Linked DNA regions of Homo sapiens: all the other regions are linked to region 5. The links are contacts of gene promoters, found by promoter capture Hi-C in blood cells and fetal thymus (Javierre and others, 2016). All regions are on one chromosome and are shown on one strand. Each heading gives the region's core, a stretch centred on a gene start or on the middle of the fragment in contact. The rest is flanking DNA. Distances are from core to core; before and after follow the strand shown. Region 1 overlaps NETO2 (neuropilin and tolloid like 2). Region 2 has its middle 51 kb from the start of DNAJA2-DT. Region 3 has its middle 80 kb from the start of DNAJA2-DT. Region 4 overlaps NETO2 (neuropilin and tolloid like 2). Region 5 holds the start of ABCC12 (ATP binding cassette subfamily C member 12). Region 6 overlaps NETO2 (neuropilin and tolloid like 2). Region 7 overlaps ITFG1-AS1 (ITFG1 antisense RNA 1).

Region 1 (3,418 bases), core at 843-3,342, 1.1 Mb after region 5:
GGTGCTTCTTAACCCAGTGAAGGCACAACTTAATGTCGTCTAGGAACATTGGTTTAGGGTCAGTCTGTATTTTCAGGGATAGAACTAAAGAACCAGATGATCAATAGCTAAGCCAGCCTTAGCCTGTCACATGTTATACACCTTCATTGAATCATAGATGGGCATTAGATCTCATTTATTTATTAAACTTCTCTATGCTTTTGGAAGAGGTAAGAATGGAACTAATAAATCTTAGGCATTATTGCCAGAATAATGCTAATTGCTGTATATACAGCCTTTAATCTTTGAGATCAGTGAGAAAACTTTATAAATTGCTTACTAAAATGAAAGCCATAAAATTTAATAACAGAAGACATGAAATTTAGCAATCTTGTGGAATTCATTACACAGTATTAACTGTCACGCAGGGTACCCCACACAGTGTCCCAGTGTTGAACACAAAATGCAAATCTGGAAGGGATAAATATCTTCAATTCAGAAACAGCATTAAGTATACCTGTATAATACTGTCACCATTATCTTCCATCTGCAATTCACCGCATCATCCCCCAAATGCCCACAGATCTATTGCAGGAAACCTACTAATCCCAACATCTAAAGCATGTAGGAATAAGATGTGATATTCCTTTTGTGTGTGGGGAGAGTGTCAATCTAAACGTTTAACAAAAGGCAAAGAATGTTCACATTTCACATCACAAAAGAGATTTCAAAGACTCCTTTAACCCGACAGCGCTTATGTCAGTGTCTTTGTCATGTTTCATAGAATTGTTAGACTTTAAAAGAACCTCCTGAAAGTCTGCCTCTGAACATTTGTATGGTTCTGCCAATGTCTGATGAGAAGAATGCTTCCCTGTTTGAGGAGTGTGTTCACTGATGAGAGGGGACGGGAGAAGCCTGGTTGTGATTTCAGGAATAATTCTCAAAGGAGATTATACTCTTATTGCAAAATGGGGTCTGCTATATATTGTTCATGTCACTTTATTGCAAGTGACATGAATTATATGACATTAAAAATAATATGCCTTGAATCACACTGATTAGACCCAGAAGGATCATTGAGTTTTTGGTGGTTTTAAAGATCCAAGAAAGACCTATCTAGCCCAAGTGTATGAATGAGAAGACTGAAGCCCACAGAAGTGAACTCAGCACCAGTGTCTCAAGAACCCCAGTACTCTGGTTTTTTTCTTTTTTGAGACGGAGTCTCGCTCTGTCGCCCAGGCTGGAGTGCAGTGGCGCGATCTCGGCTCACTGCAAGCTCCGCCTCCCGGGTTCACGCTATTCTCCTGCCTCAGTCTCCCAAGTAGCTGGGACTACAGGCGCCCGACACCATGCCCGGCTAATTTCTTGTATTTTTAGTAGAGACGGGGTTTCACCGTGTTAGCCAGGATAGTCTCAATCTCCTGACCTCGTGATCCACCCGCCTCGGCCTCCCAAAGTGCTGGGATTACAGGCGTGAGCCACCGCGCCTGGCCTTCTGTTTTTGTTTTTCTGTTTTTTTGTTTTTTGAGACAGAGTCTCGCTCTGTCACCCAGGCTAGAGTGCAGTGGCGTGATCTCGGCTCACTGCAAGCTCCGCCTCCCGGGTTCATGCCATTCTCCTGTCTCAGCCTCTCGAGTAGCTGGGACTACAGGCGCCCGCCACCATGCCCGGCTAATTTTTTGTATTTTTAGTAGAGACGGGGTTTCACCATGTTAGCCAGGATGGTCTCGATCTCCTGACCTCGTGATCCGCCCGCCTCGGCCTCCCAAAGTGCTGGGATTACAGGAGTGAGCCAAGGCGCCCAGCCCAGCTGTACGTTTTAAAAGTCAAGCACTTCTGTTTAGCAGCCCATGTAAGCTTGTCAATCATTCTGAATTGAAATGTAATTTATTCTGTAATTTCTTCAATGCATTATATTTCCCCTTTTCTTTAAATGTATGTAACATTGTGTTCTACAGTTTTGCTGCCATGATTCCTTGGCACCGTGAATTCTTACTAAGCAATGTTTGTTAACAGTATACAGGCTCGATACTAGGCAGGAAGAGCTCCTGTGTTCTTGCTTTTTTGATCTTTTTTAAATCTAAAGGAGACGTGTATTCTAGAAATTAAATATTTGTGTGCCATATCTCTTGAGTTTTGGAGAATGATTGGAGTTTGAGTTACTGTAAATAACAAGATTATCTTGGATATTTTAGTTTTCTGCAAAATCACTTATGTTTTATATACCTCTGCTAATAATTCAAAACTCTGAATTTGCTTTACTTTAACTTTTTAAAAATGTATTTTTGCAATTGGTTTAATGACTACCAAAGCCTAAAAAGCTAATGACTAGGGTGCATGTTTAGTATGCACTGTCTAGTGTAAGCTTTTTAAAAGCAGTAGATTTTTATTAGAGATGAACTTCCAGGCCATATGAGAATATGCTTAATCCTAGATTTGGCATTTTATAGAAAAGAATTTTGACTCTTGAACTAGAATTAAAAACTTGTTCTGATTTCCTTGCTTGCCTCAATTTCTAAAGTCTAGAAGTGGCAAATAATTTAGATCACTTATACCAACAGAATCTGTATTTCCTTCCGGGGCAAAGTTGGCATTTCCTATCCACTAGCTTCCAAAATACAATAATCCTAGTTATGATAAGGGCAACTTTATTTTATTACACTTAGAACCATTTTATGTTTTCAAATTCATTAATCTTCAAGTGAAGATGAACTAAAGAAAAAAATGCGTTTTGTCCCAGGTTGCCTGCAGGTTGCAGTCTGCTGCATCCGGTCACTGAAGAGGCAGTGAGGACTGTCACAGAGTGGGCTGGAGAGCCAAGCTGTTCTTTCGGGGTGCACAGTGCACCAGCCATAACACAGCTTAGAAACATGGATGAGTATACCTCAAGACAGGTGAACACGGAGTGGGGAGCAAAAGAAGGCAGAAACTCCTCTGAGTTTCACAAGCATCAGGCACAGATCAGGGCACAGAGGAAGAAGAAAGAAGGTTTACCACTGGTCTGTCTCTGTAAATTGTTACAGAGCAATTTTACTTTGTGTTATTTAGGATCAAGAAACAAGTGTTATTTAAAAGTTCTCTTACCCTCCAACCTTTGTCATACTCCACAATATCTGATGCCATTTAGGCCTCTGAGCCAGTACACATTTTATTGAAACTTTTTTTCTTTTGAGGCAGTCTTGCTTTGTAACCCAGGTTGGAGTGCAGTGGCACAATCTCAGCTCACTGCAGCCTCGACCTCTTGGGCTCAGGAGATCTTCCCGCTTTAGCCTGCCTAGTAGCTGAGACTACAGGCACGCACCACCACACCTGGCTAATTTTTTAAAATTATTTTTGTAGAGACAGGGTTTGGCCATGTTGCCAGGCTGGTCTGGAACTCCTGAGCTCAAGCAGTCTGCCCGCCTAGGCCTCCCAAAATGTTGGGATTACAGGAGTGAGC
Region 2 (3,429 bases), core at 381-2,880, 1.1 Mb after region 5:
GGTGTTCTCAAAGCCTTCCAGATAGCACCATTTGTGTACTGTGGGCCCCACTTGAACACTCAATTTATTAAAATCTGAATTGACAAAACAAATACCTCAAGGGTGCACCAAGTTTTATGCCTTCTACTCAGCATTCACAGTGCTTCTTCAATCGGAGATTCCTGTGTTGCAGCAAACCTGACTATTCTTTTTCCATACGGTCATTCTTCACAGTGTTCAATTATCTCAAATTCTCAAGGGCACTCATCCTTTTGATGCTGTGTCTGCTGATCCCCTCTGATGGTGGGTCCATTTCTCATACCAGTGCATCTTTCTCATGTGTGAGTGTGTATATGCATGTGTGTGTGTATGTGTGTGCGTGTGTGTTCGCGAGCACGTGTGTGTTCGTGAGCACGTGTGTGTGTGCATGTGTGCGTGTGTGTGCGCGTGTGTGTATGCACGTGTGCGCGTGTGCGGGTGCATGCGTGCCTGTGCATGCGCGCGTGTGTGTGCATGTGTGTGCACAAGCATGTGTCCCGTGAGCTCTGGCATGTGGAAACGGCCCCATAGAGCAGCTCTAGGTTTGCTTCTGCTCAGGACCCCAGTATTTCACCACACTATGATTCGTTTTCATGTTTATTTATTGGCTCCTTATGGCCACAGCAAGCAGGAAGAGTCCATTTGGATTCCACATCCTTGTGTGGTACAGGTTTGGGGGTTCAAAGTCTCAAGGAAGCTTTTTTTCTTTTCTCACCCAGAGCCATGGCAAAATTAACTCCTATGCTTGGGTAGGAAGGCAATGTTTTTCAGTCCCCTGGACACAGTGGTCCCGCCATTCCAGGCCTCAGATTTTAGCAGAGGCCAGTTACAGCTCCCCACCATTTGCACGCTGGAGGCTGGGTCTCCTATCCCACCATGGCTAATAAGCCATCTGGGCCGATATCTAGGCCACTATCTCCCTAAGCCATCATGGCACCAGCTCGCATGGGTACCACTCTGGTGCAAGCTGCCCTTCATGGCTGGTACCTGGGAAATTCTCTTCTTTATGGCTTGGCCATGGATTTGAACTTTTAAATATATATAATTTTTTTAAGACAGGGTCTTGCTTTGTCTCCCAGGCTAGATTGCTTTGTCTCCCAAGTAGCCTAATCTCGGCTCACTGCAACCTCTGCCTCAGCCTCCCAAGTAGCTGGGATTACAGGTGCATGCCACCACACCTGGCTAATTTTTGTATTTTCAGTAGAGACAGGGTTTCACCATATTAGCCAGGCTAGTCTTAATTTCTGACCTCAAGTGATCCGCCTACCTCAGCCACCCAAAGTGCTGGGATTACAGGCGTGAGCCACCGTGCCTGGCCTAAAAAATATATTTTTAAATTTATTATTGGCAGGAAGAGGGGGATCCACATTAGTTCATTGTATCATCTTCTGAAACCCATAGAGTCATTATTTTTTTTAAGTAGTATAAATTAAGACCAAAAAAAATTTAGAGTAGGCCATAAAAACCTGTGTAATTGGCTGGGCACAGTGGCTCACACCTGTAATCTCAGCACTTTGGGAGGCCAAGGTGGGTGGATCAAGAGGTCAGGAGTTCGAGATCAGCCTGGCCAACATGGTGAAACCCCATCTCTACTAAACATACAAAAATTGGCTGAGTGTGGTGGCACACGCCTGTAATCCCAGCTACTCAGGAGGCTGAGGCAGGAGAATTGCTTGAACCTGGGAAGTGGAGGTTGCAGTGAGCTGAGATTGCACCACTGCACTCCAGCCTGGGCAACAGAGCAAGACTCTGTCCAAAAAAAAACCGTGTAATTGTTACATGGAGCTTCCTGACAGCCAAAGGGAAATGAGATATATACAAGGTTCTTTTTCACACACACACACACACACACACACACACACACACAAAAGAAGAAAATATTGTCAAGTATAAGAAAAACTTACTTTTTACCTTAGCACAATTTTTTTTTTTTGAGACAGGGTCTCACTCTGTTGCCCAGAAGTGCAGTGGTACGAGCACAGCTCAGTGCAGCCTTGACCTCCTGGCTCCAACAATCCTCCTGCCTCAGCATCCCAAGTAGCTGGGACCACAGGCGCCTGCTACCATACCCAGCTAATTTTTCACATTTTTTTGTAGAGATAGGATCTCCCTATGTTGTTCGGGCTGGTCCTGAACTGCTGGGCTCATGCAATCCTCCTGTCTCAACCTCCCAAAGTGCTGGAGTTACACGAGTGAACCTCCCATGCCCTGCCCTACCTTCATAAAATTAAACCCTGATCTTCCAGTATTGGAAATAGAGGGAGAACCTCTAGGTGGGGAGGAGTAGACAGCTCCTGTTATTCTAAATGTGTGTATAATGTTTACATTTTTTCTTAATATAAAATTAATAGGTGCCCGTTGTGGAAAATATGACAACTCCATATAACAAAAAAGAAAGTAAAACTCTTGGTTACTTGATGTTCAATAAACCATAACCTTGGTCATGCATCTGCAGAATACTTAGAATTGATACGCAGAATCATGACTCTGAGGTGTCTCCTGAATCCTCAAAGAAAGACGAAGCTTGCCAAGGAGGCGGAGTGAGTGGACTCTGACATCAGGCTGCTCTGCCACTTGCTGCATAACTATAGCAGGCACATTAACCTCTCTGTATCTCAGTTTCCTCAGCTGTAAAACTGGAATAATAACAGTACCTACTTGAAAGATTGCAAAGATTATATGAGTGAATAAATATACATTCTGGGCACATAATAGGTGCTATATAAAGGTTTGCTATTTTCATAGAAATCATTTTAGGCCAGGTGTGGCGGTTCACGCCTGTAATCCCAGCACTTTGGGAGGCCAAGGCTGGCGGATCACCTGAGGTCAGGAGTTTGAGACCAGCCTGGCCAACATGGTGAAACCTCGTCTCTACTAAAAATACAAAAATTGGCCGGGCATGGTGGCGTGCGCCTGTAATCTCAGCTACTTGGGAGGCTGAGGCAGGAGAATCCCTTGAATCTGGGAGGCGGAGGTTGCAGTGGGCCAAGATCGAGCCACCACACTCTAGCCTGGGCGACAGAGTGAGACTCTGTCTCAAAAAAATAAATAAATAAAAGAAATTATTTTAACGTTATAGTTTAATTATTGGCAAATTGATCATACACAAAAGTCACATCTGGTAACTCATTTGTCTAGAAGAGTTGATGAACCAGGACACTGCTTTCCTTGACCATGTTGGAAAATAGGAAGCTCACGTCCTTGTTGTACAGGAACACAGTAGACAGGATGGTTAACATGAGTCTGAGCTCATTTTTAGCTTAATATAGACACAAACACCTAGATACAGAAATAATCATAGATTTGTGTGCATGCATGGGTTGGTATGCATGTACATTTTTCCCAGCTCTGCCCACTGAGCGGGCCTCAGTAGTGATGACCACAGCCAATATCAAGTCTTGTTTGCTAAAC
Region 3 (3,323 bases), core at 466-2,965, 1.1 Mb after region 5:
CGGACTCATGGTGCCTCTTCCAGGCCCACCCATGGCCACCCATGGACCAGTGGGCATGCACTTCCTCCCCTCTGAGCGACATAAAAGCCCTGGGCTCAGCCAGAGCAAGAGAGAGGATGGCCAGAGCAGGGCAGAGAAGGTGAAGGACAGAGAGAGGACAGGAAGACCAGCTACAGAGAGAGGCTATCCTTTCTGCTCAGAGCTTCAGAGACCTGCAGAGACGTGGGAATAACCAGCCTCCTGGAGAGGAGCTACCCTTTCCAGGGCCTCCTCTCTGCTGAGAGCTGAACTGGATGGGCAACCTGCCTACAGAGATGAGCTACCCACTGCGGATCTCCCGAGCTGTTTTAACACTAAATAAAGCTTCTCTTTGTCTTCTTCATCCTTCACTTGTCTGAGTACCTCATTTAGAACTCAGGTGAAGGCCCATGAGCCACAGAAGTTTCCAGGAAGAATATCAACATCCTCCTCAAAGATCCCTTAACAATATCAGTAATCTTAGGACTCCCTTTCCCCAGAAGGGACAGCCCAAGAATGAAAGACACCCAAAGGGAAGGAGAGCCAAAGCCCTCGCACCCCAGAATACCACAGCGGTGGCCCCAGCAGCATTACTGGCGTCTGCTCCCCACCAGGCCTGGCCATGGCTTCCTTGGTAGCCTGCATCCTTGCAAGCAAATGATCTGCCTGCAGTGCACAGAAAGGAAGCCCGGATGAGCGAGGGCATGGCTTTCCTTCCCTCCCAACCGGTAAGGAAGGCCAGGAGAGACCTGTACTGTTCACCTCCATGTTCCTTGTGCCAAGAGAGTGTGTTTTGAAGTGAATTAAGGTGCCCTCGAAGACTAGAAAACAGGGAGGGATGGGCATAGTGGCTCACACCTGTAATCTTAAGGTTTTGGGAGGCCAAGGCAGGAGGATTGCTTGAGCCCAGAAGTTTGAGACCTGCCTGGGCAGCATGGTAAAACCCCGTGCCTACAAAAAAATATATATAAATTAGCTAGGCATGGAGGCTCATTCCTGTAGTCCCAGCTACCTAGGAAGCTGAGGCGGGATGATTGCTTGAGCCCAAGAGGTCAAGGCCATGTGGCTATGATCATGCCATTGCACTTTAGCCTGGGCGACAGAGCAAAACCCCGCCTCAAGAAAATTAAAGAAAAGAAAAAGAAAACAGAGAGAAAGGTCTCTTTCCAAGAGTTAAACTATAAAATCAGCTCAGGGCAAAGCAGAACCATGCGCTGTCACACTAGAGAAACAGCAAGGCCAACCATGACCTATTATGAGCACCAAAAACGTGTCTAAAGACGGCATGTGTTCCAGCCAGGTATGGTGGCTCGTGCCTGTAATCCCAGTACTTTGGGAAGCCAAGGCAGGTGGATCACCTGAGGTCAAGAGTTTGAGACCAGCCTGGCCAACATGGTGAAACCCTGTCACTGCTAAAAATACCAAAAAGTTAGTGGTGCGTGGTGGGATCCAAGCTACTCGGGAGGCTGAAGCAGGAAAATTGCTTGAACCCAGGAGGTGGAGGTTGCAGTGAGCCAAGATCGTGGCCACTGCACTCCAGCCTGGGCAATGCAGCGAGACTCTGTCTCAAAAAAATAAATAAATAAAAATAAAGGCAGCATGTGTCTGTGAGAAGGGGGTGGCCAGCTCTGCAAGCAGAGGAGAGGGCAACCAGTGCCAGAGACAGACCAGAACAGTGTCCAGCAGAGCAAGTGGCCCTGTCTCAGTTCATTAAAAGAAGAAATGCTTGACCTAACGGGTTCCGGAGGAAGGCAGGACCACACTGGGAGAAGACCACCACTTCCCAGGGCACAAGTCACTGGAATCCCTAACCGACCTCCGTCACGTGTGCCCACCATGAACCCAGGCCTGCCATGTCATTGGCCAGCAAGGAAAGAGGGCTGGTCAGGCCATACAGATCTCTGGTCTACCCGGCAGTATTCATTTTCACGGGTGATCTCTCGGTGAGTAGATATTCTGCCTCTGTCTCTGAGGGTTCTGGAGGTGTGCATTGGCCTTCCTGAGTCTGAGATGCTGACCAGGTAGAGACTGTGAGCCTGGGGCTGAGGGTTGGACCAGGGACTGTGGTGAACCCACCAGGGGAAAAACTGCTATCTGGATTCAGCCTCTCCCCTCAGTGTCTGCGAGTACTTTCCACCAGAAACTTCTACACAAAGCGGGTGCTGGGTATTGGATGGATAAGTGGACAGACAGACACACAGGCAAACAGAAGTGTTACTGCAAGTTGAAGCCTCCTGTCTGGCCCCTAAAGCTGAGCTTTTTCCACCATGTGTGCCATCTCTTCAGCCTTTTCCTCTCTCCCTGCTAGGACTGGCTCAAGGCCAGGACCTGGGGCTGCTCACAAAGTTCTTGCTGGCTGTTTTTTTTGTTTTGTTTTGTTTTGTTTTGTTTTGTTTTGTTTTGTTTTTTCTAGAGACAGTGTCTTGCTATGTTGCCCAGAGTGCAATGGCACAATCACAGCTCACTATAGCCTCCAACTCCTGGGCTCAAGCGATCTTCCCACCTCACCCTCCAGAGTAGCTGGGATGACAGGCATGTGCTGTCCCACAACTGGCTAACATTTTTTTTTTTTTTTGAGACGGAGTCTCACTCTGTTGACCAGGCTGGAGTGCAGTGGCGCGATCTCCGCTCACTGCAAGCTCCACCTCCCAGGTTCATGCCATTCTACTGCCTCAGCCTCCCAAGTAGCTGGAACTAAAGGCACCCACCACCACACCCGGCTAATTTTTTGTATTTTTAATAGAGACGGGGGTTTCACCACATTAGCCAGGATGGTCTCGATCTCCTGACCTCATGATCTGCCGGCCTAGGCCTCCCAAAGTATTGAGGTTACAGGCGTGAGCCACCGTGCCTGGCCAACATTTTTATTTTTTTGTGGAGATGGGTTCTTGCTACATTGCCCAGACTGGTCTTGGACTCCTGGGTTCAAGCGATTCTCCCACCTCAGCCTCCCAAAATGTTGGGATTACAGGTGTAAGCCACCATGCCCGGCCTCTTGCTAACCATTTAAGCTGGAGTCCAGCAGCAGGGACAGATGCAGTAAGCTTCATACAGTGGGGAAAGAGTCCCTGTCCTCACTGGGGAGGGTCCTGGCCTTACCCCTTTCCAGCTGTAGTACTTACCACTTAGAATGGGATAGAAGGTGGGGAGTGGTGGCTCACACATATAATCCCAGCACTTTGGGAGGCCGAGGCAGGCAGATCACGAGGTCAGGAGATCGAGACCATCCTGGCTACTGCGGTGAAACCCCGTCTCTACTAAAAATACAAAAAATTAGCCCGGTGTGGTGGCAGGTGCGTGTAGTC
Region 4 (3,513 bases), core at 45-2,544, 1.0 Mb after region 5:
CAGCTGGTAGAAGGCAAAACTTGAACCCTAGCCTAGATTCATGAAACTCCTTAAGTCCATACTCTTAACCATTTTGCTCGATTTCTCTCTCCACACCTGTGCATCCTTGGTGCCCGCTCTTCAGTGGATACTCTGTAAGTGCCTATTCACTGAATGAATAACTCCAGTTCACGCAGTAGTTCGGGACAGGCTGGCAGTGTGGTTTCCTTTGAAAGGGAGAGTGCAGCATCCATGAAAATGTTTCTTTAAATCTTCAAACCACATACACAAAACAATTCAATATGTTGTTGATTGGGTCTCAGAAATGTTCAACATGGAAAAAAGCTTCAGTGTTAAATATGGCTAGCCTTTGTAGCACAGAGCACAGCATAGTACTGCACAATGATAAGACAGTTTGAATTGATTTCTAGGAGACTGCTGCCCCCTTACTTCTGTCTTGATTAAGAATGTTCTCAGAAAACAGATATAATCTAATTGAACTTTCACTGCCATAGCACACTGCAGAGCCAGCTATACTGCATGTAAACTTTGAGATGGACTACAGTAAATAGAGGAATAGTTAGGATGAGCAAGGTCTGTTGCAAAAAACAAGTGTTTTTTTTTTTTTAAACAAAACTATTAAGTTGAAAAATGCTTTCAATGCCATGTATTATTAAATGCTTATAAATGAGTACAAAACCACTTGTCTTTTCTTGGGTTATCTTAAGGGTTAGGTAGCAAATCAGAACATAACATTTAATGCTTAAAGATCTTGAGAGTGAATTTTGAGTAATAAATAGTGATTTTAGTTAATCTTTTTTTGTCATCCAATTTTATTTATTGACTTAGTAAAATGTAGTATAGATTCAATTTCATAACTTTTCTTCTCTGTTATTTCTCTAGTGTTGTTAATAACAGTACTGGTAGTGGAAGGGATTGCCGTGGCCCAAAAAACCCAAGGTAAAGTACTTACATTGGTGACTTACTGCATGTTTAAGACAATGGACTGGCTTATTTGAAAGGATTGCAACTTTTGGGTACTATTTTCATAATCCCTTTGGGGTGTTCCAGTGACCTAAGGCTTTCTGTCAACCCATCAGCCTCAATTTAACTGAGTTTAGCTGCAGTTAACTAAATTGTCAGCATAAAGTCTTGCCCTGATAAATTTTTAAAATTGACATCACTAGTAGCTCCTAGCATACTGTGGATTATGTCCAAAAATTAAAGGAGATTTATATTTTATCACTAAGCAAAAATAAAAGTCCCTTTTTCTAATTTAAACAAATGAAACACTTCAATTAATATCTTATTCAAAGTCCTTTGGTTCTGTTCTTTTGTCTTGATTTATGTTTGATGATTAGCTAGTGTGATTTTTTTTAGCCAGATTTTTATGTCTGAATTTAGTACATTTCCAGTGTAATGTTGTTTGTTTTTTATTTTCATCTAAGTAATACATACACATGATAAAAATCAAAGCATTCCTAAAAAGTTAATTAGGAAAAATGAGTTCCCCATCTTGCCCTACTTAACTTCCTGCTCCATGGAAATAATCACTCTTAGCTGATTCTTTTGGTATTTCCCTTCCTTTCTCTAAATAACATGCTGTATTGCTACTTCTTGGTTATTTCAGTTTTATAAATTAGATAATGATTTTTCACCGTGGAAGATGAGAATTTAGCTCTTTCACGCACCTACCGTCCACCCCATCCATATTTGAGTGTTCTCGTACCTTGCATTTGTAGCACCCTTCTCAACACAGTTCTGTCATAATTCTGGTTAACTCAGTATTCAGGATTTACATTAAGTCACTCATTCAGCTGAATTTTATCTTTAGGAAATCTTTTTTTTTTTTTTCTGTTTTAATTTTTAAAATTCCCTTTCCTCCATTTTCTCTCTTTTGCCTTTTCAGGAATTCTATTATTTTACTTGGTTATGGCCCTCTTGGTTTTTGTTTCTGGCTCTTCTGTTTTCCATCTTTTTGCTCCACATTCGCTGAGACTTCCTCAACTTTACCTCTAAACCAGGAGTTAGAACACTTTTTCTGTAAAGGGTCAGATCGTAAGTGTTTAAGGCGCTGTAGGTCCTACAGTCTCTGAAGCAACTCTTCAAATTCCTCAACTCTTCTGTCCTGGAACAAAAGCACACAAATGATGGGGATGGGTATATTCCAGTAAAACTTTATTTACAGCAGGCTCCAGGTCATGTTTGGCCCAGGGTCATAGTTTGCTGAACTCTGCTCTAAATGTTCTGCTGATTTTTTCATCTCTTCTGTTTTTGGAAGCTTTTTTGGTTCTGTTTTCTGAATATAATATTGTTTGTACAGTATCTTTGTTTTTGTCTTATAGATTTACTTGCTTTTCTTTCTCAGGATATTAAATGATTGTTTTGTGGTGGTGGTGGTTTTTAAATATTTTTCTTGCATAGTCTTTATCTCCTCAGAGTTGCTTTTCTCCAGTTTTATTATTATTATTATTTATTTATTTATTTATATTAGAGATTTTCCTCCAATGTCTGGTGATCCTTGAGGGCTCATATTTTAAGAGGGGCACTAAAAACTGATCGTTAACTGTCTGCAGGTGTGGGCAAGGATCAGTTACTGGCTCTCACTGTTGACAGATCTGACACTGGGGAACTCCTGCATCTGCATCAAGCCTTTCCTAGGGGCTGTTTCGACTCCCAGAGAAGAATCTTTTCTTTTCCTGCTTAAAGGCTCAATATCTGACCAGGAGGCCTTTGTGGGAGTTAAGCAGGAAACGAAGGCTGGGACATGTGCTAACATTCACTCGTCTCCCTGTTTTCGTTCTCAACTGTTCCTGGTGTCCCCTAGTCCAGTAACCCTGTTGTTTTACCTTCTCCAAAGAAATCACCTTTAGTGTTCTGATGTGGTTGTAGAGCTGCTAGATTTGTGGAGGAGGAAAGGGTACTGAAAATCCAACTCATTCTAAACAGACTTTTAACTAGCCTCGTGTTTTTAAAAAGCCCAATTTCACTCACCACCCCCAACCCCACTTCCTGGTACTGCCAGTTGTTACTGCTATATCTACCCCTCTCTGTTTAAGAGTTTATACCCTTTTAAAAATCCTTTTATTGCTGTTTAAGTGGAGTTTGAGGAAGGAGCTCAGCTACGTGCATGTATTTAGTCTACAGTCTTCAACTAAAATCCCTCTAACCTTTGAATCATCTTTTACTGTTGTGTTAAACTAAGTTTGAGGGCCCCATATCAGAGATCAGCTCCTGGGATGCCTTTATTTTTAGGTTAGAACTGAATTGTATTGCATCTTACTGACTTAGCAGATTCCCCCATATGGTTTTGCCCTTTGTTAAGTGCCTATAAGCCCTTTATTTCCCTGTTCTCTTACACGGCAAACTTGTCCTCTCCCAGCAAGTTTTCCCTCCCTCTCTTTCACTTCTGTACTCAATTTATTGTGCTAAATTTGACAGTGGTTCTTAGAAAATTTTATATATGTAGCATAGAGTGAGCAATCGTTTGGAAAGTGGTGGGGGAAAGAGAAGAATGATTCTCTTTTGCTGTAA
Region 5 (3,368 bases), core at 384-2,883:
ATTCCAGTGGATTATCTCGCCCCCCCGCGAGCTGTGTGTACACCCAGGATGGGCCTCAGTTCCCTGACTATGGGTGAGTCCACGCTCTGCCTGGAACAGGAGCTTGGCTGGTCTTTTCCTAAGGACTTCCTTGGATACAGACCGGACAGTCCCTCTCCATCATTCTCCACTCTGTTTCCGGCTAGGCCCACCAATCTTCTTGCGTAGCGCCCAATACTGTTTGTCTGGGTGGAAATCCATCTCCGCCCAGCCTTTCATGGAGATAGAGGAAAACTGATCGGCATTCTTCCTCCATAAACTTGACAGCACTTGACTCCGTTTGGAAGATTGTGGAAGCGAGTCTTTGCTGTGTTTATGAGACCCCCGGGGTTGTTGCGAAGATCAAGTGATAAAGAGGATGAAGAATTTTGCGATACACAAAGGGCTCCAGAAATGTCGAGTGATATTATTAGCAGTGATTTGCATTCATGAAGGGAAGAATGGACGGAAATTAAATGGAACACTTTGGACACGTGTAAGGAAACTGCTGTCGGTCTAGCTCACTCCCCAGGCCGGGGAGCCTTCCTGGGAGGACCCATTTTCCTACACAGCTGCCCACAGCCCCTCTCCATTTCCACCTCCCTCTAGGTAGGAAGGGAACTCAGGTTGGGCAAAGGCGGTGAATTCGCATCTCCAGGAAGCGGCGGGGCCGGAAGGCAGCCAGCAGGGGGCGGCATTGCGCAGGACAGGAGAAGGTAGCGGCCAAGTTCCTCATGAAATCCACGTGCGTGAGGCTGGGAAGGTCCTCTAAGATGTTTAAATAACCCTTAAAGCGGAATCAAGATTTGTTTTTTTCTGCAGTTAGAGAGTTTGCTCCCTCCCAGCCGGCTCGCTGAGCGCTGTGGAACCCTTCGGCTGGGCTCCCCTGAAATCGGGCGCTTGTTCTGGGACAGGCGCAGAAGGGACCCCGGGAATCACGCTTGCGCTCGGGATGTGCAGGGTTCCAAGGGTGACACAGGGGAACTTTTCTATGCAAGGGCTAGCTGCTAGTGCAGGTCTCAGACTTACCTTCCGTTCATTTCAAGACAAATTGAGCTCAAATTACCCTTTTCTTTTTCGTTAAATGAATGGGGAATGAATGAATGAGATTTTCTGTTTTGAAGATGAGGCTCATCTCCCCTCCCCTCGCCTCCCCTGCCCTCCCCTACCCCTGCCCTCCCCTACCCCTGCCCTCCCCTCCCCTCCCTTCCCTTCCCCTGATCCCAAAGTTGATTCCCGGTTGCAGGAACACAGCGTAGAAAATTCGATGCATTCTCTCAGGAAGGAGCCTGGAGTGGGACTCAGGGGACCTGGGTGCTGGTCTCAGCCCCACGCCAGTCGTGGACAGGCTTCTGTTCCTTGGGCTTCTCGTCTGTAGAATGACGGTTGGAGAGAGGATTTTTCTCCTTCTCTTCTACAAGGATGTGCTGTGACAGCCAGGGAAGGGCTGGCCATGCACAGTGCTTTCATGCATGGGCTCTGACTGTCACCAAAGAGCCAGACCCGGCCACAGGCCATCCTGGAAGAGGGGAGAGCCCTTTAATGTGGGCAGAGGGAATGTTGGCCCGCCAGAGTTCCCTCTCAGGTGTGGTGGGAGTGGCAGTTGAATGGGGCAGTTGGAGAGGAGGACTTCAGGCGGGTGGGACAAGAGAAACTGAATCTGAGGTCCTTGGGGAGAAGCAGGCCCTGGAGTCCTGGGCAGCAGATGCCAGGCTCTGAGCCCCATGACTGCTGACCCTCCTCCCCTCCCTCTCATCCTCAGCCCAGGTAAAGCTTCATTTCCAGCCCAGGTAAAGCTTCTCCCTGTAACAATTAGTGGCCACCATTTAGTCCCAAGGGCCTTTGTTTCTCATCCTCAGGACAGGCTGTGTGTGTGTGTGGTGGGGGGTTTGGGGGAGGTGACACCACTGAATGGGGCTGCCCAAGTGGGAGGCAGCAGGGACGAGGCTCCCAGAAGAAAGGCAGCCCCTCTTCCACTTTTGGAGCCCCCGCTATCATAAAAGAAAAGGCAGAAATGCCAAGACGCGATTTCAAAATCTCTGAAATACAAAAGCCTACATTGAATATTTTAAGTCTTTTCCCACACATGCACAAACACAAACACATATACAGGGTAGTGTTCACAATTTAATTATGGGATTTATACCTCCCCCCCAAAAAAAAAGACCTGGAAAGCTTTACTGCAGTTCTCATATGAGGTTTTCATCTTTCTTTCTTTTTTTTTTTTTTTTAACTTTTAAATATATTATTTTCCTGGGAGGGTAGATTTGAATTGCTCTGAATCCAGGCTCTGCATCCTTCTTTGATCGTGTCGGAATGTGTCTGTAACTGGATGGATGACCTCTTTTGGAGATGCCATCACTGGCCACTGTTTTAGGCCTTCTGGGAGATGAGGGTACTTGAGCAAAAGCACCCCCACTTCCCTTCCCACACCCCCAGCTTGGTGCTGTCCCCTGCATGCACTTCCCTCTGCCACCTCTCTGCCTCTCCCTGCCTCCCAACCCCAGTCCCTCATCACTCACAGGGCTTTCTGATCTGGCTGCCACAGGTGCCTGGGACCTGGGGACAGACAGGAGAGGTGCGGTGCAGGCAGGGCCTGGGAGAGCTCCCCAGTGTCTCCTCTGTGCTGGAGGCCAGTCAGGCCCTGGAGGAAGGGGCTGTGGGAGTTGGGGGAGACCATCAGATATTGATAACTTTGGTGGCTTTAAATTAACAATGGATTTATTAAGAAAGAAGTAGGGCTGTAGTCTCATACCTGGGAAAAATTTTATGACTAAAGGTGTGCCTGCTTTTGGTTGATGGAGGAACTCCCATCATGAGCACCAAGGAAGACCCAGAGTCCAGTTCTCAAACATAAAGTTGTTAATTTTCTGGGCTAGACAGGGGCAGAAATGAAATATAACAGAGCAAAGTGGGCAGGTGTGGAAAATGGTTCTTCTTGAGATGACTTCTAGACATCTTTTGTTCTCTCTTGGGGCAGAGACAAGGATAGAGAAAAAGGCCTCAGGAAACACTATAAGGAAGACAGCAGTGCCAATGCAATAATAAATGTTACATGACCCCAAATCTCAGAGTCACAGAGACAGTAAGGAGTGGTGGGGATTGTGGCAAACTAAAGCATGTATACCCTGCCCAGGAGGGGCTGCCGTGCTCAACGTAAGTGGATTGTCACCACATGAACATACAGAGCTCTTGATATTTGACGAAAGCCAGAAGCCAGTCTTATTTTTTTTTTAATGTGGTATCTCCTCATTTTTAAATGTTTTCCACAAATTGGAAAAAAATGTTTAAACTATGCAGGCCATATAAAATGGAACTGCAAGTTGTACATGGTCTTTGTGTCCTGTGCT
Region 6 (3,182 bases), core at 683-3,182, 1.0 Mb after region 5:
CCTACAGCTGACACCATACTTAGTGGTGAAAACCTGAATTCTTTCCCCTTCAAAATCTGTAGCAAGCTAAGTCCTATTCAATGTTATACTAGAAGTTGTAGCCAGTACAAAAAAGCATACAGATTGGAAAAAGAAGAAATCAATCTTTTTGAAGATATCGTTGTCTATATAAAAATTTCCATAGCATCTGAAAAGCTCCTGGAACAAATATATCAGGTTAACAAGGTTGCAGGATGGAAGACCAGTATACAAAAATCAATTGCAGGTCAGGCACTGTGGCTCCCGCCTGTAATCCCAACATTTTGGGAGACCAAGGCAGGTGGATTGCTTGAACTCAGGAGTTCAAGACCAGCCTGGGCAACCTGACGAAACCCAGCCCCTACAAAATATATATATATACATGTATATATATATATATATGTATATATATATATATAAAAATTAGCCGGGCATGGTGGCTGCAGCTGTAGTCCCAGCTACCCGGGAGGCTGAGGCAGGAGGATCACTTAAGCCAAGGAGGCGGAGGCTGCAGTGAGCCAAGAGCGCACCACTGCACTCCAGCCTGGACAACAAACTGAGACCCTGTCTCAAGAAAAAAAAAAATCAGTTGAATTTTTATATACTAGCAATGAAAACTGTAGTTCAAAATTAAGAAAACAGTACCATTTAAAATATTACTCCACCAAAAAAAACTGTGTAGTATCTGTTAACTGAAAACTTAAAAGACCATAATGAAAATATTCAGAGATGACCTAAGTAAATATACTGTGTCAATGTATTGATAGGCCCAGTAGTGCTAAAATGTCAGTTCTTATGAAAATGATCTACACAGATGAATACAATTTCAATCAAAATCACAGCTATATTTTTTGTAAAGATTGACAAACTGATTCTAGAATGTAATGGAAAAGCAAGGGATTACAGAAGCCAAAATTATTCTGAAAAAGAACAAACATGGAAGACTCATGACCTGATTTCAAGACTTAATGTGAAGCTTCAGTAACCAAGACTGTGGTACTGACAAAGGACAGACACACAGATCAATGGAACAAGATAGTCCAGAGATTAGATTTCTGCAAATATGATTTGTTAATTTTTTTGACATTCAAAGGAAATTGAGTGGAGAAAGGATAGTCTAACAGATGGTGCTGGAACAATTGAACCTCCATATTCAAAGAAAAAAAAAATGAACCCTCACCTGTTGAGTGTAGGTGTTGCCTCACCTACATCCAACACTGTATTTAAAAATTAACTCAAAATAAATCATGGACATAGATGTAAAATTATAAAACATTTAGAGGAGAATATATGAAAAGAATCTTACTGGGTTAGACAAAGAGTTCTTAGATGCAACACCGAAAGAGTATCCATAAAAGAAAAATTCAGGCTGGGCGCGGTGGCTCACATCTGTAATCCCAGCACTTTGGGAGGCTGAGGCGGGCGGATCTCGAGGTCGGGAAATCGAGGCCATCCTGGCTAACACGGTAAAACCCCGTCTCTACTAAAAATACAAAAAATTAGTTGGGCATGGTGGCGGGGGCCTGTAGTCCCAGCTACTCAGGAGGCTGAGGCAGGAGACTGGCATGAACCCGGGAGGCGGAGCTTGCAGTGAGCCGAGATCATGCCACTGCACTCCAGCCTGGGCAACAGAGCGAGACTCCATCTCAAAAAAAAAAAAAAAAAAAAAAAAAAAAAGAAATTTATAAATTGGACTAATGAAAAAGCTTTTCTCTGTGAAAGACACTGTTGAGTGAGAAAAAAAAAAAAAAGCCACTGACTGGGAGAAAAAAAATCACCTATGAAAAGATTTCTTTCATCCAGAACTCAAAACTCAACAATAAGAACAAAACCCAATTATGAAACAGATTTCAACAGATACTTCACCACAGAAGATTTAATCATTACAAAAATGCAAATTAAAACCACAATGAGATGGCACTATTCTCCATTAGAATAACTGTAATTTAGAAAAATCACTAAGTGCTGGGAACTATGTAGAGCAGCTGAAACTCTGATACAGTCCTGGTAGGAGTGCAAAATGATAGAGCCGCTCTGGGAAACAGGTTGGTGGTTTCCTATAAAGTAACTGTGTGACTCAGCCGTCTCTTCTGGATGGGTACCCGGGAGAAATGAAAGCTTATGTTTATGGAAAAAAACCTATAAGTAAATGTTCATAACAACTTTATCTGTAATAACCAAAAACTAGAAATGTTTCAAGTGTTCTTTAGCTTTTAAAAGAATAGGCCAGGTGCGATGGTTCACGCCTATAATCCCAGCACTTTGGGAGGCTGAGGTGGGGGGATCACTTGAGGTCAGGAGTTCAAGAGTAGCTTGACCAACATGGTGAAACCCTGTCTCTACTGAAAATACAAAAAATTAGCCGGGCCTGGTGGCAGGTGCCTGTAATCCCAGCTACTTGGGAGGCTGAGGCAGGAGAATTGCTTGAATCCTTGAGGCGGAGGTTGCAGTGAGCCAAGATTGCACTACTGCACTCCAGCCTGGGCGACAAGAGCAAAAACTCCATCTCAAAAAAAAAAAAAAAAAAAAAAGAATAAACTGTGGTACATCCATATAGTAACATCTATTCAACAATAAAAAGGGATAAACTACAGCTACATGCAGTAACCCCAAATGCATCATGCTAAATAAAATGAGCTAGACTCAAAGGATACATGCTGTGTGATTTCATTTATATGAAATTCTGGAAAAAGTGAACTGTAGGACAAAGAACAGATCATTGCTTACCAGGGATGAAGACTGGAGATGGATTTTGACTGCACAGTGACAGCACAAGAGAAGTTGAGTGGGTTGTGGAACTGTTCTTGAAGTGTCAGCAAGGACTGAGTAGTGGATTGAGTAGAGCAAGCAGACTCAAAGAATTTGCTTTAGAAGTATAAATTGTCTCGTTAGAATTCAACTGTAAAGAGAAAAATGTATATAAATTGGTACAACCACTTTGGAGAGCTATTTCGGATGTGCTCTGGTAAAGCTGAAAATGGTCACATGCTACTACACAAGTATACTTCTAGATGTATACCCAAATGAAATCGTCATACCTGTGCATAAAGAGAAGACAACAATGTTTACAGCAGTATTAGCTAATTATAAAAGTAGAAGCAAGCTAAATGCCCAATAGGAGAATGGATACATAGTGATTTATTTCTATAATTGGTATGAGGTTT
Region 7 (3,310 bases), core at 283-2,782, 1.0 Mb after region 5:
TGGTGTGATCTCGGCTCACTGCAGCCTCTGCCTCCCAGGTTCAAGCAATTGTCCTGCCTCAGCCTCCCAAGTAGCTGGGACTACAGGTGTGTGACACCATGCCTGGCTAATTTTTGTGTTTTTAGTAAAGATGGGGTTTCACCATGTTGGTCAGGTTGGTCTCGAACTGCTGACCTCAAGTGATCCACCCGCTTCAGCCTCCTAAAGTGCTGGGATTATAGGCATAAGCCACCATGCCCGGCCAAGAAAATATTTTCAAATCACATATCCAACAACAGACTTGTATCCTGAATCTATAAAGAACTCTCAAAACTCAACAATACAAAAACTCAGACAAGATGACACCTAAGGAAGCTCCTGCCTCTCCCAAAGCTGAAACCAAAGCAAAAGCTTTGAAGGCCAAGAAGGCAGTGCTGGAAAGCATCCACAGCCACACACAAAAAGGAGTATCTGCACTTCACCCACCTTCCAGCACCCCAAAACACTACAGCTCTAGAGACAACCCAGATATCCTCAGAAGAGTGCCCCCAGGAGAAACAAGCTTCATCACTCTGCCCGATTCCCTGAGCATTGAGTGTGCCATGAAGAAGACAGAAGATAACAACACACTTGAGGTCACCGTGGATGGCAAAGCCAACAAGCACCAGAGCAAACAGGATGTGGGGAAGCTCTGCAACACTGATGTAGCCTGATCAATCAGGCCCAATGGAGAGAAGGCGTGTGTTTGACTGGCTCCTGCTTATGATGCTTTGGATGTTGCCAACAAAATTGGAATCATCTAAACTGAGTCCAGCTGGCTAATTCTAAATGGACATCTTTTCACCAGTAAAAATAAAAAACAATTTGAGTGGGCAATAATTTGAGGATACTTCACTGAAGAGGATATATAGGTAGCAAACAAGCATATGAAAAGATGTTCAACCGGATATGCCATTAGGGAAATGAATACTAAAACTATGAAGAGATACCAATACACATCTATCATGAATAAAAAGTGCTTTCATGGATAAAACAAAGAATACTGACAATTCAAAGTGCTAATGTGGATGAGGAAAAACTAGAATTTTCATATATTGCTGGTGGGGATGCAAAATAGGAAAGCCACTCTAGAGAACAGTTTGGCACTTTCTAAAATCAATTGCATTTTTATACGCCAGCATGAACAATTAGAAAATGGGATTTAAAAACAGGTAACATTTATAACAGCATCGAAAAAGTCAAGTACCTGGGAATTAGTATAACACAAGATGTAGCATACATCTCTGTCTGGTAAATTATAAAACTTCTCTGAGAAACGCTAAGGAAATTTTCAATAAATGCACATCTGTAACCATGTTAATGGACAGGAAGACTCAAAATTGTAAAGATGTCAAAGCCCTCCCAATTCCACTCATCCCAACGGGGTGTTGTGTTGCCGAGCTTGCTAAGAGGTTTCTAAAATGTACACGGAAATATAAGAGACCAAGAACAGCCAAGACAATCTTGAAAAAGAATAAGGACCTGCTCTACCAGGTAACAAAATAATAAAGTTAGGGTGATTAGGCCAGGCATGGTGGCTCACGCCTGTAATCCCAGCACTTTGGGAGGCCGAGGCGGGTGGATCATCTGAGTTCGAGACCAGCCTGGCCAACATGGTGAAACCCTGTCTCCACTAACAATACAAAAATTAGCCGGGCGTCATGGCACAAGCCTGTAATCCCAGCTACTCGGGAGGCTTGAGGCAGGAGAATTGCTTGAACCCAAGAGGCAGAGGTTGCAGTGACCCAATCATGCCATTGCACTCCAGCCTGGACAACAAGAGCGAAACTCTGTCTCAAGAAAGAAAAAGTTAGGGTGATTAACAGAGTGCGGTATTGGTGAAGAGATAGACAGACCAATGGAACATATTAGAGAGTGCAGAGAAAGACTCATACACATGGAAGTCTGATTCAGGAAGGAGGTAACACCACAGAGCAGAGGAATATGAAAGGCCTTTTAACAATTTTTATTATTTAACAAACATTACCAAATAACTGCATCAAGAATTTACACTTATGGTTTCATACTACACCAATAAACTAGCATTTGTTTCAGCTTTTAGTAAATAGGTTTTTTTTTTTGGAGGAGGGGGTGTTGATTTCAATGAAAGAACACCAGGTTAGAAAGTAAATAGGTTTAAGCAAACATATCTCTTTTCAACATGGGATTTTGGTTTTAAAGAAAAAAAAAAGATACCATATATGTTAGTAACTTTATTCTAAGAAATACACAGTCATATGTCACTTAATGACAGACATACATTCTAAGAAATGCATCATTGTGCAAACTTCATAGAGTGTCCTTACACAAACCTAGATGGTGTAGCCTATTACACACCTAGGCTCTACAGTTTATCGTATTATTCCTATGCTACAAACCTGTACAGCAAGTGACTGTACTGAATAGTGTAGGCAATTACTTCCTACACACAATGGTAAGTATTTGTATATCTAATGATATCTAAACATAGAAAAGGCACAGTAAAAATATGGTATTATAAGCTTATACAGTTGTGTATGTGGTCCATCATCCACCAAAAGGTCATTATGCAGCACATGACTAAAATTAGGGCATTTCTTAGTTTTTCACAATCAAAGGAAAGTAACTAATGACCAGAAATTTTCTTGACAATTTGAAATTTTCCTGGTAAAGATGAAATATTTTATATTAATAGGAAGCAATATTTCTTAAAAGCGTTCTTTAAAATTATGCTAACCAGAAATTTAGAAGTTTAGGGGACAGTGTTACTGAAAGAATTCTTTGACCCCCTGACAGCTCTTCTTCAATATCAATAACACAGGAATGATTGTGGCTCTTGCATTTTATGGGCTGAATTGTGTTTCCCGCAAATTCACATGTCGAAGCCCTATCCCTCTATATAACTTTTTGGAGACAGGGCCTTTAAGGAAATAGTTAAGGTTAAATGAGGTCAGAAGGGTTGGACCCTAATCCAATAGGACTGGTGTCCTTATTAGAAGAGGAAGAGACCAGGGGTGCACACAGAAAGAGTAAAAGGCCGCTGAAGACACAGTGAGAAGGTAACGGTCCGCAAGCCAGGAGAGAGGCCTCAGCAGAAACCAGCCTCCAGAACTGTGAGAAAATACATTTCTACACTATAAGCCACCCAGTCTATAGCTACACTGTAATTCTGCCATGGCAGCCTGAGCAGACTAACAGAATGCACTTTTTAAAAATTACAATTTTCCTCTCTTCCTTCCCTAAAAAAAACCCTACAGTTGTGTAATAAACACTGAAATCTTCATATACTGAGAACCCACCTGATTGTTTTTCA

What was found. The method cuts DNA at HindIII sites, captures the fragments that hold promoters and counts their contacts. A CHiCAGO score of 5 or more calls a contact.
Region 1: a fragment that was not itself captured here is called in contact with the fragment with the promoter of ABCC12 in region 5 in 7 of 17 cell types (naive B cells, naive CD4 T cells, erythroblasts and 4 more); the score reaches 7.3 in naive B cells.
Region 2: a fragment that was not itself captured here is called in contact with the fragment with the promoter of ABCC12 in region 5 in 14 of 17 cell types (total B cells, naive CD8 T cells, non-activated CD4 T cells and 11 more); the score reaches 12.5 in total B cells.
Region 3: a fragment that was not itself captured here is called in contact with the fragment with the promoter of ABCC12 in region 5 in 15 of 17 cell types (total CD8 T cells, total B cells, naive CD4 T cells and 12 more); the score reaches 11.7 in total CD8 T cells.
Region 4: a fragment that was not itself captured here is called in contact with the fragment with the promoter of ABCC12 in region 5 in 16 of 17 cell types (total CD8 T cells, naive CD4 T cells, naive B cells and 13 more); the score reaches 28.0 in total CD8 T cells.
Region 6: a contact is called between a fragment that was not itself captured here and the fragment with the promoter of ABCC12 in region 5, in 10 of 17 cell types (megakaryocytes, total CD8 T cells, non-activated CD4 T cells and 7 more). The highest score is 10.6, in megakaryocytes.
Region 7: a contact is called between a fragment that was not itself captured here and the fragment with the promoter of ABCC12 in region 5, in 17 of 17 cell types (naive B cells, total B cells, naive CD8 T cells and 14 more). The highest score is 22.5, in naive B cells.

Annotation. Positions count from the first base shown.
Region 1 is chr16:47,077,368-47,080,785 of GRCh38, reverse strand. It overlaps NETO2 (neuropilin and tolloid like 2), which reads left to right. Exons shown (of 9, transcript NM_018092.5): 9 at 1-3,083. Among named protein-coding and RNA genes, the nearest start is that of NETO2, 65 kb to the left of the region's middle. RefSeq lists an enhancer at 1,176-1,940. The HindIII fragment of the contact is 508 bases long and covers 1,839-2,346 here.
Region 2 is chr16:47,022,839-47,026,267 of GRCh38, reverse strand. No RefSeq gene overlaps it. Among named protein-coding and RNA genes, the nearest start is that of DNAJA2-DT, 51 kb to the right of the region's middle. The HindIII fragment of the contact is 1,826 bases long and covers 718-2,543 here.
Region 3 is chr16:47,051,856-47,055,178 of GRCh38, reverse strand. No RefSeq gene overlaps it. Among named protein-coding and RNA genes, the nearest start is that of DNAJA2-DT, 80 kb to the right of the region's middle. RefSeq lists a silencer at 2,195-2,395. The HindIII fragment of the contact is 2,699 bases long and covers 366-3,064 here.
Region 4 is chr16:47,129,395-47,132,907 of GRCh38, reverse strand. It overlaps NETO2 (neuropilin and tolloid like 2), which reads left to right. Exons shown (of 9, transcript NM_018092.5): 2 at 883-939. Among named protein-coding and RNA genes, the nearest start is that of NETO2, 13 kb to the left of the region's middle. The HindIII fragment of the contact is 1,936 bases long and covers 327-2,262 here.
Region 5 is chr16:48,154,258-48,157,625 of GRCh38, reverse strand. It overlaps ABCC12 (ATP binding cassette subfamily C member 12), which reads left to right and starts at 1,633. Exons shown (of 31, transcript NM_001393797.1): 1 at 1,633-1,785. The HindIII fragment of the contact is 11,154 bases long and covers 1-1,793 here.
Region 6 is chr16:47,112,953-47,116,134 of GRCh38, reverse strand. All of the region lies in intron 6 of NETO2 (neuropilin and tolloid like 2), which reads left to right. Among named protein-coding and RNA genes, the nearest start is that of NETO2, 29 kb to the left of the region's middle. The HindIII fragment of the contact is 412 bases long and covers 1,727-2,138 here.
Region 7 is chr16:47,147,604-47,150,913 of GRCh38, reverse strand. All of the region lies in intron 1 of ITFG1-AS1 (ITFG1 antisense RNA 1), which reads right to left. It also overlaps the pseudogene RPL23AP72. Among named protein-coding and RNA genes, the nearest start is that of ITFG1-AS1, 5.2 kb to the right of the region's middle. The HindIII fragment of the contact is 1,978 bases long and covers 544-2,521 here.